Linked DNA regions of Homo sapiens: region 1 is linked to region 2. Evidence: promoter capture Hi-C in 16 types of primary human blood cells and fetal thymus (Javierre and others, 2016). All regions are on one chromosome and are shown on one strand. Each heading gives the region's core, a stretch centred on a gene start or on the middle of the fragment in contact. The rest is flanking DNA. Distances are from core to core; before and after follow the strand shown. Region 1 has its middle 32 kb from the start of GNG13. Region 2 holds the start of SSTR5 (somatostatin receptor 5).

The links. Contacts are between HindIII fragments. The CHiCAGO score rates a contact against its expected background, and 5 or more counts as called.
Region 1: a contact is called between a fragment that was not itself captured here and the fragment with the promoter of SSTR5 in region 2, in 4 of 17 cell types (M0 macrophages, M1 macrophages, endothelial precursors and 1 more). The highest score is 9.6, in M0 macrophages.

What each region holds. Positions count from the first base shown.
Region 1 is chr16:830,363-836,038 of GRCh38, reverse strand. No RefSeq gene overlaps it. Among named protein-coding and RNA genes, the nearest start is that of GNG13, 32 kb to the right of the region's middle. The HindIII fragment of the contact is 5,308 bases long and covers 1-4,843 here.
Region 2 is chr16:1,068,746-1,075,024 of GRCh38, reverse strand. It overlaps SSTR5 (somatostatin receptor 5), which reads right to left and starts at 2,278. Exons shown (of 2, transcript NM_001172560.3): 1 at 2,203-2,278. The region is part of intron 2 of SSTR5-AS1 (SSTR5 antisense RNA 1); the gene reads left to right. RefSeq lists enhancers at 2,777-3,518, 4,487-5,243. The HindIII fragment of the contact is 34,423 bases long and covers 1-6,279 here.

The DNA.
Region 1 (5,676 bases), core at 940-3,439, 240 kb after region 2:
CACGAGGACCTGGGCCTGTTGGTGCAGAGCCCTGTGAAGCGGAGGCTGCACCCCCAATAGGGCAATACCCAGCACCACCCCCATTACAGACCTTCCAGACCACCCTAGCATGTTCTCACACATGCTCAAAGAGAAAAGGCATCTCTCATCTTCGAGTGTTCCCTGTTCACCCTCTTTCCTTAATTTGCCTTACATGGTCACCCCTGAAAAGCCCCTTCTGAGCTATCCTTCCCTCCAGGTCCCAGAGATGCACAGCTAGGCACCCACAGGCCGCAGGCAGCTCCCGCCCAGATGATCCTCGGTGCTCCAGCACAGGGCCTCAGGCTGAGGTGTGGGGAGAAGTGTCCAGCCATGCAGCTGTGTGGCTGGTAACTCACCCCACTATTCCCAGGGGCTCAGAAGGGGACAGACGGTCTCAAGAGACAGGTCGGCCATCGCTGCACAGTGGGGGAGGCCACAGCTCTGTGTCCCAGACAAACGCCCAGCACGAAGGTCACACAGCCACCTCACTTGGGCGGGGGGTCGGGGGGGGGGGTCATGCCCAGAAGCAGCCCCTGTGTCTGGCCCAGCCCCTGGCCTGGCCTGGGGTCTGCAGAGCAGGCAGATGCCCTCCCCCTCCCCTTCAGGCCCATCACTTTGTGGGGTCCTCTGAAGCTGGGCCTGAGGGGGCTGCAGCCCCCAGACTGGTTTCCCCCAGTCCAGGCCCTCCTGGAGGCTCATGGCTTGGCACAGGCAGAAACCAGGGAGTTTGTGTGGGGAGGGCAGGGCAGGGCGGGCCACACATGGAAGGGCATCCTCTCTTCCACTCCCCACCTCCCTCCACAACACGAGTCATGCCCATTCCCCAGGCCAGTCTGGTCCCACAGGCCCAGGGTCACAGTCCACATGGAGTCTGGACAGCCATTTAATTTGGTGAGGGACGTGAGGATGGGATTTTGCCCCTACTAAAGACAAGTCTGTAATAATACGGCCACAAAAGTTCTAGAAGAAACCATTTTGCTACCCATGGTGACTCAGGCAAGGACCACCAAGGGGGCGAACTGTTTGGTGACAGGTAATAGGAATCGGAGACCACAGGGCAAGAGGAGCCCAGCCTGGGCCCATCACAGGGACAAGTGCAGCTGTGGTGTCGGTGGAACAATGCAGAGACGCAGACACAGCACCCAACAGAGGAGCCGGCTGAGGGTGCTGGGTGGAGACTGTGGGCTGAACTCCCAGCCCACGGGAAACTCAAGGAGTGAGGAATGAGGCAGACGGCACAGACGAGCTGGCTGAGGGTGCTGGGTGGAGACTGGGCTGAACCCCCTCAACCCCAGCCCACAGGAAACTCAAGGAGTGAGGAATGAGGCAGACGGCACAGGAAAGCATCAGGCGTATCAAAATGCCAAACTTCTGCCAAGACAACCAGGCTGGTACACAGGCCCCGCGAGCCACTATCCCTCAGTGGGAAATTTGAATTCTCCAACTTTGTTCCTTTTCAAGATGATTTTGGCTCTCTGCCATCTCTTGCAATTTGATATGAACGTTACAGTCACCTTGTCCATTTCTGCACACACAAAAATCAGCTGGGATTCTGATACGGATTGTGTTGAATCTGTAGATCAATTTGGGAAGTATTCTCATCTTAGCTATATTAAGATTTCCTATCCATGAACATGGATGTCTTTGCATTTATTTAGACCTTTCTTTCTTTCCAGTGTAGTTCCAGTGTACAAGTCTTGCACTTCTCTTGTTAAATTAATTTTTTTTTTGAGACAAAGTTTCACTCTTGTTGCCCAGGCTGGAGTGCAATGGCATGACCTCAGCTCACTGCAACCTCCACCTTGCAGGTTCAAGCGATTCTCTTGCCTCAGCCTCCCGAGTAGGTGGGATTACAGACCTGCGCCACCACACCCAGCTAATTTTTGTATTTTTAGTAAGACGGGGTTTTGCCATGTTGGCCAGGCTGGCCTCCAACTCCTGACCTCAAGTGATCCACCCACCTCAGACTCCCAAAGTGCTAGGATTACAGGCGTGAGCCACCACGGCCAGCACAGATTCGTGTTTGAATGCATGCACCTGTTCACTAATTCACTGGATTTGTTCTCTAATGGGAGTGTCCCCACGTCGGGAGACGCTGAAGTATTTACAGTCACAGTGTCTGCTGCTTTCTTCAAAACGGTGGGCAGAAAACACAAAGGCATGTGCGTAACGTGTAAAACACATATGGGCAAGTTGCCGAAATGGCTGACCCTGGGCCTGGGTGTGTGGATGTTCTCCGGGCTATTCAGCCTTTGCTTGAAAACCTTCAAGTCACACAGCTGCCAGGAGGTCATCACGTTGGCGTGACCCCTCCCCTAGACCCGGCCAAGGCTCTGGCTGAGATGACCTGGACGGTGCCCTCGGCTCAGGCACAGCTTGGGGAGGCTGCTTCTCCGGGAGAGGCGCCGGGGCTGCTGTCCCCAACCCAGCCTCCCCATGTGGCTGCCCTGGGCTGTCCGCTCGACGGCCCCCTTGCTGGGGCAGAACCTTCTCTACCATGGAGCAGGTGCCTTTGTCCATGGGCTCCCGGGCATGAGCCCCCTGCTCTCCCCCATCCAAGACGCAGACCCCAACCCAAGCCACTGTTCCAGGAATAAAGAGGCAGCCACTGCAGACTACAGGGATTTGTGAGCGAGATTGGTGGGATGGGTGATGGTGAGTGGAACACCCCTTCTCCCTACTTCCAGCCTCCTGCCTCGCACCCCCTCCCCTCGCCCCTCCTGGCCATGCTGCCCCACTCAGCCTCACGCAGCCTGGCCACATTGTCCCAACGCTGTCCTTTCAGAGTAGGGAGTAATGTTCAGCCCGACCCCGGTTCCCCGTGCCCTGAGTCCCCCACAGTTCCTCACAGTCCCCGTTAACAAGCACACTTGCAGGGGGCGGCCGTACACACGCAGAGCCCTTGCTGCCATGACAGGGCCAGCCCAAGAGGCGGGGGCTGCAGCCACTGCTCTCATGAGGGTGGCAGGAGATGCCAGCCCGGAGCCAAAGTGTCCGGAGCGGCTCACAAAAGGTAGCTCACAGGGGCGCCGCCCCGACACCGTGATCCACCCAGCTGAGCTCCCTTGTGATGGCCGTAAATTTTTATGAGCGCTAAAACAGCTGGGGCCTCACCTCGCCAGGGAACAGACTCAGAGCAAATGCTGGAGGTGACTGTCCTCCTGTTCTCGGAGCTGCCATGAAAAGCCTCTGCCACAGGGTGGATGGGGCGGAGCGGGGCGGGGCGGGGTGGCGGATGGGCTGAGGATCCACAGGGTGGACGGGGCGGGGCGGGTGCTACTGCTCTGACCTCCTGGACAGAGACGGCGAGGACAGGGCACCGGCTGGGGGCAGAGGCTGCTGTGACAGCCGTCCTGTCTCTGTCCTGCAGCCAGCCCTCCTGGCTCCGTCAGATCAGCTCCTTTCAAAGCCCAAACATCCCACAGCTAAACCTGGAGGGGGGCGCAGTGGCTCACACCTGTTGTCCCAGCACTTTGGGAGGCTAGGCCAGGAGGATCACTTGAGCACAGCGAGCCACGATCTTACCTGTACTTCAGCCTGGACAGCAGAGTGAGACCCAGCTCTAAAAAAAAGAGAGAGGCCGGGCACTGTGGCTCACGCCTTCACCCTACACCCTGACCACCCCACCCCCTCCCCACCCTCATGCTCCTCCCCTGCCTCATACCCCCTCCCCCCTCACACTCCACCCCCCCACGCCCCTCCCCCCAAGCCCCTCCCCGTCTTGCTCCTCCCCTGCGTCATACCACTGGTGGCATGGGGCAGGGTGGGTGTCTCACCAGGGAAGGAGCTGAGGCCACAGGGCCCTGAGCAGGGCCGGGGCAGAGTCCACAGGCCCCACCCATTGGCAGGTTCATCCATTTGTTTCTGTGTTGATTTTGCTTTTTTTTCCTAAAAATTTAACAAACGTCCCCCGCCCCGGCCCTGCCCTGGCCTTAGAGATGGGTCTCAGAATCCCGGGCCCCAGCCGGGAGGAGAGGCCCTGGTCCTTGCTTCTGCTGAGGGCACGCACCCTGCTCTCAGGGCGGTGTGGCCTCAGGAAAGGGGCTGAGGGGCTGCCCTGGCCTTTTCTGTGAGTGCCACGCTGGCCAACTGCCAGGAAAGTAAACGTCTCCCAGAGGGAAAAAACTCACAGGGCGGAGGGTGCCGGGGTGGCACAAGGGGTTCTGGACCAAGGGGCTGGAGGCAGCTCTTGTCCAAGGAGAACCCCCCTCCCAGGCACCCGCTGGTCAGAGCTGGGGCCCCCACACCTGTTCCCAGCGGGCCCCGTCCCCACGTGCCCGGCAGCCTCTGTGACGTTCAACACAGCCACGGGGTGCTCCAGGTGCCTCGCTGGGCCAGAAGTCGAAGGACAGAGGGCTCGGCAGGGCTTTCCTGACCCGTGATGATGGTGGGCAGAGCCCTCCCTTGAAACCAGCCCAGCAACGCAGGCCAACTTTACCCACCTGGTGGGACTAAACCCCTCTAAGGAGAGGGGGCCCTTCGGGGACACAGGCTGGGGTTTTGGGGAGTGAGGCTCTGTGAGCCCTGCCCCAGGACCACCACACAGCAGGCCCACAGGCCCAGGCAGGGACTGCAGACACAGGGCCATGCGGGGCCGGGAGCGCCTCCTCCTGGGATCCCTGCAGCCCCTGCCCTACACTCCCAGGCTCAGGGGCCTCCTCCTGGCCCCGCCGTCCCAGGCTCAGGGCCTTCCTCCCGGATATTTCTTCTGGAGCCTGACCCATGGGCTTTCCTGCATCTTCTTTAAAGATAAAATCGAAAACAAATCTTTAAAGGCCATCTCCAAAAACCACAGAGGCCGGAACAAAGTAAAAATAAAGCTTCCTCTCAGGAGCTTCCTGCTTATCTAAAAACGCCTGTGTCAGCAGCACCTTCTAGCCCAGAGGGGTCCCTGGGGCCCCAGCCTCTGGCAGGGGCCGGACCCAAGGCCACGTGACCCACGGCAGAAGGTGCCGGGCCCTGGCGTGCGGTGCCACGGGACGGGGACAGTGACCAGCCCTGCGGCTCAACGTCAGTGTCCGCGTGTGTGGAGTCTCCTGCTCAAGGGAAAAATGCCCTTCAGTCCTACGAGGAGGCAGCAAGGTGGCTAAACAGTGCCTCCGACCACTCAAATATCAAAAAGCTGCCTTGCCTGGAAACAGGGTCCTTGCCGACGTCATTGAGATGCGGTCATACCGGATCAAGACGGACCCTAAATCCAAAGTCAGAAGACACGGCCATGACGACCAAGGCAGAGGCTGGAGTTATGAGGCCACAGCTAAGGCAAAGCTGAGCGCCAGGGGCTGGAAGAGGCAGGAAGGCTGTCCCGTCCCCCTGGGGACCCTCCGTGGCGCAGGCCCGGCAGTCCCCGATCTCAGGCTCCTGCAGCCTCGTTCCACAAGCCGGGCTGGGCTCCGGCGCATCCAGGAGCAGGTTCCCCTCCTCCCTGTGGTCAAGGCTCCAAGCCTGCCTCCTTCGCTCCTTCCCTTCCCAGAGTCTCACCTACCTCGGAAAAGAGGAGGTGGCCTGAGACCGGCTCTGCCGACAAGACCGGCCTGGGTGTTTTGAAAGCAGATATCCGTGAACGTTTTTAATCCGTAGGTGGACGGTACCAAACCCCAGTATGGACCGTGCGTGGGCACTGAGCATTTCATGACAGAAGGAGACGCCGGCCGG
Region 2 (6,279 bases), core at 1,029-3,528:
CCGAGCCCTCGGCCACGAAGGGATCTGCTCAGCCTGACATGGCACTGGGAGAGACCCCGGCCCCTGACCACTCCCCACACGGGCTGCGTGGTCTGGGGTAAGTCACGGGCTTCTCTGAGCCCAGCTTCTGGGATAGGCAACTCCTGCAAACTGTAGGGTTGCTGAGCTGATGAAACTGAGTGAGCTTCTGTGTGCAGGGTGCTGCGTGCATCCACTCCCAGCAGCATCCATCCCTCCCATCTCCTGCCCCCACCCCACAACTCACCATCTGCAGGTGCCCGGTGTGCCAGGGTCAGCCCAGAAGCCACAGGGGACCCAGATGGCCCCAGTCTGCCCACAGCACCGCTCCCGGCCTCACCTCCCCACGACGGGGACCACAGCGGGGCTGGCATACACTGGGCGCTCAACGATTGCTCCCACAAGCTGCCCTAAGCAGCCCAGCATTTCCCCAGCATCCAGGAGGCCGCTGGGCTCCTCGGAGAAGGGGGCAGTCTTCACAGGGGCCTGGGACCAGAGGCGGGGCCTCAGCACCAAGTCCTCCATGACTGGGTGGAGGTCTAGCCTGCACCCTGCCAACTCCTTCCAGGCTAACCCAGCACGAGGTCGGGGAGTCGGCTCCTTCATGGGGGGCAGCGATGCGGCTGCAGCTTGGAGGGGCTGCGGAACCTGCTGCTCGGGGAGGCAGCGGCTCACACGGCCGGGGCCCACGCCGCACCCTGGAGAGGCTGCAGACCCACCCGGGCTCCTCCATTGTGTGCTGGGCAGGGGCAAACGTCGGGGGACACCCTAGCTAAGACTACAGGCCCCAGCCCCTCCAAAGGCCCCGGAGCCAGGCCTGTGCTCCCAGGACAAGCGTTCTGACCTGTTTCCTCTGTCGTAAGGGTGGCCTGGTGGCAGGCCACTGCCCCCTTGGGGTCCAGCTCTGTGAGTGCAGCCAATGGCACCCCTGCCTGTCCCCCACATACACGCCACCTGTCCCTGCGGCAGCCTGTGGCCAGGGGCACATACCCTCCCCAGGAGAGGGAAACTGAGGCAGGTGTGGGCCAGCCTGGAGCAGCAGCAGCAGGGGTCCCGCGTGCTCCGCGAACGCTTCTCGGGGCACCCTCCACACCAGGCACCTCCTGACAGCCTCGCTGGGTCTTGCTCTGGAAATCAACGCCAGGCGCCTGTCCTTGGTGCTGTTGACCAGTTTCTGCCCAGGAGGCTCTGGCAGTCCCCACCTACATAGTCCAGAATCACTGCCTTCAGAAAGGGCTCAGCCTCACTGGAACCATCCCCAACTTCTGTCACCATGCACTCCGCTCTCTTGCCCTTGAGGGGGCCCCAGGCAGGCTGGCAGGCTGGGGACAGCGGGTCGGGCACGTGGGTGGGTCTGGGGTGGGGGAGGAGGGCCAAGGGCACACACCCCAGTGGCGTGTTCTCTATTCTGGAGAGGGTGAAGACGCCAGGAGGATTCCAGGTACACGCGGTGCCTTGGACAGGAGGGGGCTCTGTTCGCAGCGGGCGGGGTGGCACCCCAGCCTCCCCAGTCTTGGGTTTCAGGGAACCCATCTGTGAGTGCCAGGTCACAGGGCCCCTGGGTGCTGGCCTCTGCCTGCTGCCTTCCAGGAGCTCACCGACCCAGCTGCGCGCAGGCACCAGTTGCCTCCCCCGGCACCCAAATTGCGGATCCTCCCCTCGCTGGGTGCCACGGGCACCCTGGGACCCTCCTTCCGTGGCCCAGTGGTTCCCTGTGGCCTGAGTGCCACTTCCGGCCCCCAGCCCCAGGCTCCGAGCCCTCCCCAGCCTTACCCACCCTCCTCCAGCTCCAGGAGCCAGCCCCGCTGTGGCCCCCGTCGTGGGGAGGAGAGGCCGGGAGCGGCGCGGTGGGCAGAGTGGGGCCATCTGGGTCCCCTGTGGCTTCTGGGCTGACCCTGGCACACGGGGTGCCTGCAGATGGTGAGTTGTGGGGTGGGGGCAGGAGATGGGAGGGATGGAGCTGCTGGGAGTGGATGGAACGGGAGGGGAGGGACCCCCGGCGGCGGCAGGAGAGCCCCGCGGGTGTGCGGAGGGCGCGTGGGGGACAGTGCGTGCAGCGGGCTGGGGGCGCACGGCGGGACCCCGGGCCGGGGCTGCGCACACAGGGTGAAACCCCCAGTGGGGATAACAGCCGAGGGCAGGGGGTGCCCGCGCGGGAGGGGGACAGGGGCGGGCGGCACTCACCTGGGCGGCGGCGCCCTCTGAACGGGGGAGCCCCGATGTCCGCGCGGCACTGGCTCCGGGCTCCCGGGCGCCGGCTGGGAGGGGGCGGGGCGGGGCGGGGGCGGGGCAGTGCCTGGTGGGGGCGGGGCAGGGCCGCTTCACCTGCTCGACTCCCGGGTCCCACGTCTGGCCTCCGGGAACCCTGGCGCACTCGCCCACAGCCCTGGTCCCACTGGCAGTGACCCCATGATCGCCTGCGCCCCCACCCTATTTTCTTGCTGTCCGCTCTGTGGTAGACCCCAGCTTGGGGTGGGGGTCCTGCCGCCAGCAGGAGTCCAGGGGGTCCCTCGTCGAGAGTCTGAAGAGGGTGGAGGGTCCTTGTTCAAGGGGAGAGGGTCAGGGGCTCTGCAGACGTCTCTGAGGGGTGGGCTGGGGTTGTGGAGATAAGTGGGTGTGTGGAGGCTGGTGGGGGCGGCAGGCAGCCCCAGCGAGGGGGGTCCGTGGTCGTGGGATTTCCAGGACACTCCACTCGGGTTTTATCCATGCCTTATTTGTGGATCCTACACATATTTAAGCATAGACTACCTGCTAAGTTGTTCTTTTTATTTCCCCTGAAATGAATCCATGGGTACACCTTAGTCCCTCACCTAAGGTGGGGTTCTCAGGCAGGCAGCAGAGTCACCTGGGTCCTCAAAGCAGATTCCTGGGCCTCGAGCTGGGCCCCCGACTCCCCAGGCAGTGAGGGCCTGGGAATCTGCATTCCTGAGAAGCTCCCGGGATGCTGATCCCCGGGCCCGCCGTGAGCGCCGCTGGTTGTAAGAAGCGGGACCGAGCGCCTCCTCCCGCTGAGCGCGGAGGCTGGGGATCACCGGACATTTTCCCACCAGGAGGTCCCCCAGCCCCCTCCCCTGACTCTGTGCCGACCCAGGGAGCCCCGCCACTGGCTGAATGAAGTGAGGCGCCCCCAGGTGACAGCAGAACTCGGAGGGCCCCTCTCTGAGGGGACATGGGAGCAGCCGCCTGCCGTCTGTTCACAGGTGGGGTCGGCTCCTGTTGAACAGGCGCCAGCAGCTCCCTTGAAGGCCGGGTACCGGGACCATGTTCTCTCCTTTAAGCGTTTCAGTGTTTCCACATGTTCTGCAAGCAGCGCGTGTTATGTTTACCATCGAGCAAGAGTGCTTAGAGGACCATGGCACCTGGCCCCAAGGTCCCCTCCCCTCCTCCCCAGCCTGCGGCCATGGCCAGGCCCTCAGGGGAGGCTGCAGGCTGGTCCCAGGTCCCCTGCCCAGAATCCGCCCCATAAGCCTTTCCATCCTCTCTGGAGGTACCTGGGCTGTATCCCTCCCACCCTCCCACAGCAGTGGCTTCCCAAGGCAGATCCTCTGAGAACCCCCTTTGTGACCCCTAACGCCTCCCCCATCTCCATCTGCTGCCCCTCCCCTCAGCCTCTGCCCACCATCCTCATGGTTCTCGCCTCAGCCCCTGGCTGTGTTCCTCCAGCTCCCACTGCCTCGCACCTGGGCCCCCATCTGTCATGTTCTGGGGCTCCCTGAGAAGCCTCTGGGGTCCCACTGTTCTGGAATCACTGGGTGCCCCAGGGGTGCAGGGTCCGGTGTGCGAGTCACGGCCCAGCGCCCAGTGGGAGCTCAGCCCTGCGGGTGGGTGGGCGCTGGATCTACTCACATCCCCAACATCAAGCTGGGACACCCCCCACCTCCAAGCACCTGGGCCCTCCTGGGGGCCTGATGGCCAGAGAGGGGACCTGTCGGCCCCACAGTGCCCCTCCCCACATCGGCCACCCTGAGTTCTGGGCAGGAGTCCCCTGGCCTCAGTCCCACCCACCCCAGGAGGATCAAATGAGGTCATGCCCGCCTGGGACGCTGCAGAGGTCAAACCCAGCACCGTGAGGATTAGGGGCTGCCAGTAGCCATGGCAACCGATGGTGGCTGGATGGACTCCGCAGGGACGGTCCTCAGACCCCTCTCCAGGGACCCCACCCTAACTGTGACCTGTCCCACGGCCCGTGACACCCCCTCTCCTGAGGCTGAGGACAGCAGCTCCCGGACACAAAGCCCGTGCCCCTCCCCCACCAGGCAGAGGCTTGGTCACTGGGCTGACTCCCCTGTAATTATTCAAAAGCAACAGGGGCTGACTCCAGCTCACCTGGAACACCCCAGAGGCCTCTCGTCTTAGTCCCCAGACTGGGCTGGGCCCTGGGGGTGGCGGCCAGGAGGAGTGTGGGGCACTCTGCCCTGCAGCCAACAGGGCCCTCCCTCCGCTCCTCCAAAGGGCCCCGCTGCCCACTGTCACCCTCTGAGCATCAGGCGTTTGCCCTGGCTGCCCCCCTGCCTGGTGCACCCCACCTCCCTTTCTGCAGGTAACTCCCCTGGCAGCTCAAGCAACGCTTCCTCCGGGAAGCCCGGGCCGCCCCACACTTGTTCCGTCGACCGCTGCCCCCAACAGCCTGCAGATGTTCACAGGAGGCCACGGGGCCTGGTGGGTCTCGACGTCGCCCCCGGGTCTGATCACAGCAGGATTCCAATAAACACGGGTCCACGTGCACCTCCCGGCCCTGGCTGGTGCAGCACAGCCCGCCAGACAGGAGGTCAGAGATCAGCCCCCCACCGGGGCAGCACAGCGGGTCACCAGCCTCCCGACAGGAGAAGAAAACACTGGCGCAGGCGCTGCCGGCATGTGTTGCTGGGACTGGGCTGGGAGGGTGTCCTGGTGTCTGAGAGCCTCAGGGAGCTACCGCAGAGCGTCCCCAAGAGCACAGGGTGCCCTGACATCCTGCGGATTCCAGCCTGGGGACCCGGCAGCAGGGGCTTCCCACCAAGGCGTCTGGAGTGAGATGCAGGCTGCAGCTGCCAAGGGCAGAGCGTGGCCCGGGGTCCAGACAGAAACAGGGAGACCCTCAAAGGGTTTCAAGGATGGGGCCTTCTGCAGGGGCCTGAGTCCCGCCCCTGGGGCCCTGGCTGACCCTCCTGGCCGTGGTCTCGAGCTTCAGTGGGCACTCTGTTAAAATGGGGTGCTCATTAAAATGCAGCTTCCCAGGCTACTCCAGCCTTCAGGATGGGAGGCGGGGGCAGTGCTGAGGCCCTCACCCACACAACCCGCTGGGGTGCCCACTCTGTCCCCTGGCACCTGGACCAGTGCCCAGTGTGGAGTGACGTCCCATGAGCACCAAAGACCTGCCCCCTCCCAGCCCCAGGTAGAAGCCACTGCCGGGCCTGCACTTGGGGGAAGGTGAGGATGAGGAATTTGAGTGAATATGCCCTGGAAACCGCGTCTGGAGCTGGTGAGAGACTCCCACACAAGACCCCCACCCTCCTGGGGGATCATGGGGACCCCCCAGTCCCACCTGGGCTACGGCAGCTCTTTCCTCCGCCAGCAGGTTGTACCACCCAGGTGAGGCCTCAGGCCTGCAGCAGCACTCTGATAGGCCCAGCTGGGGGGCGGGGCCTGCTCGCCTAGGCACCTCTGTGCACTCTGATAGGTCCAGCTGGGGGGCGGGGCCTGCTCTCCTGGGCACCTCTGTGCACTCTGATAGGTCCAGCTGGGGGGCGGGGCCTGCTCTCCTTGGGCATCTTCATTTGAAGATGGGGAAACTGAGGCTCAGAGAGGGTAAAGGGCTTGGCTTGGAGCTGAGTCTCTGGATGCTCAGGCCGGGGCCCACCCAGGACACCCTGCTTTTCAGTGAGTGGAGGGGCTCTGCAGGTGTGAGGAGGGAGATCAGGGCAGATGCAGGTACCTCCTGGCCCCTGCCGCAGCCCAGCTGGGACCCGCCTCATCCCAGACAATGAGGCCCCAGGAGTCCCGGCCCAGCCTCAGCTTTGGCAGGGCCCTGGTTCATCCCGGGAGGTGCTTCACGCGGTCACCAGGCAGCCCCACTCCTGCCAAAGGCTCCCCATACGGCAAGATTCACCCTCTTCCCGGGATGTGCCAGGCAGCTCTCGGGGCCAAAGCCTCCCCATACGGCAAGATTCATCCTCTTCCCGGGGTGTGCCAGGCAGCTCTCGGGGCACTGCTGTCTGGGCTGTGGACTCAGCCTGTGCTGGGCAGGGCAGGGGGAAGTAGCAAAGCCGTTCATGCAGATGG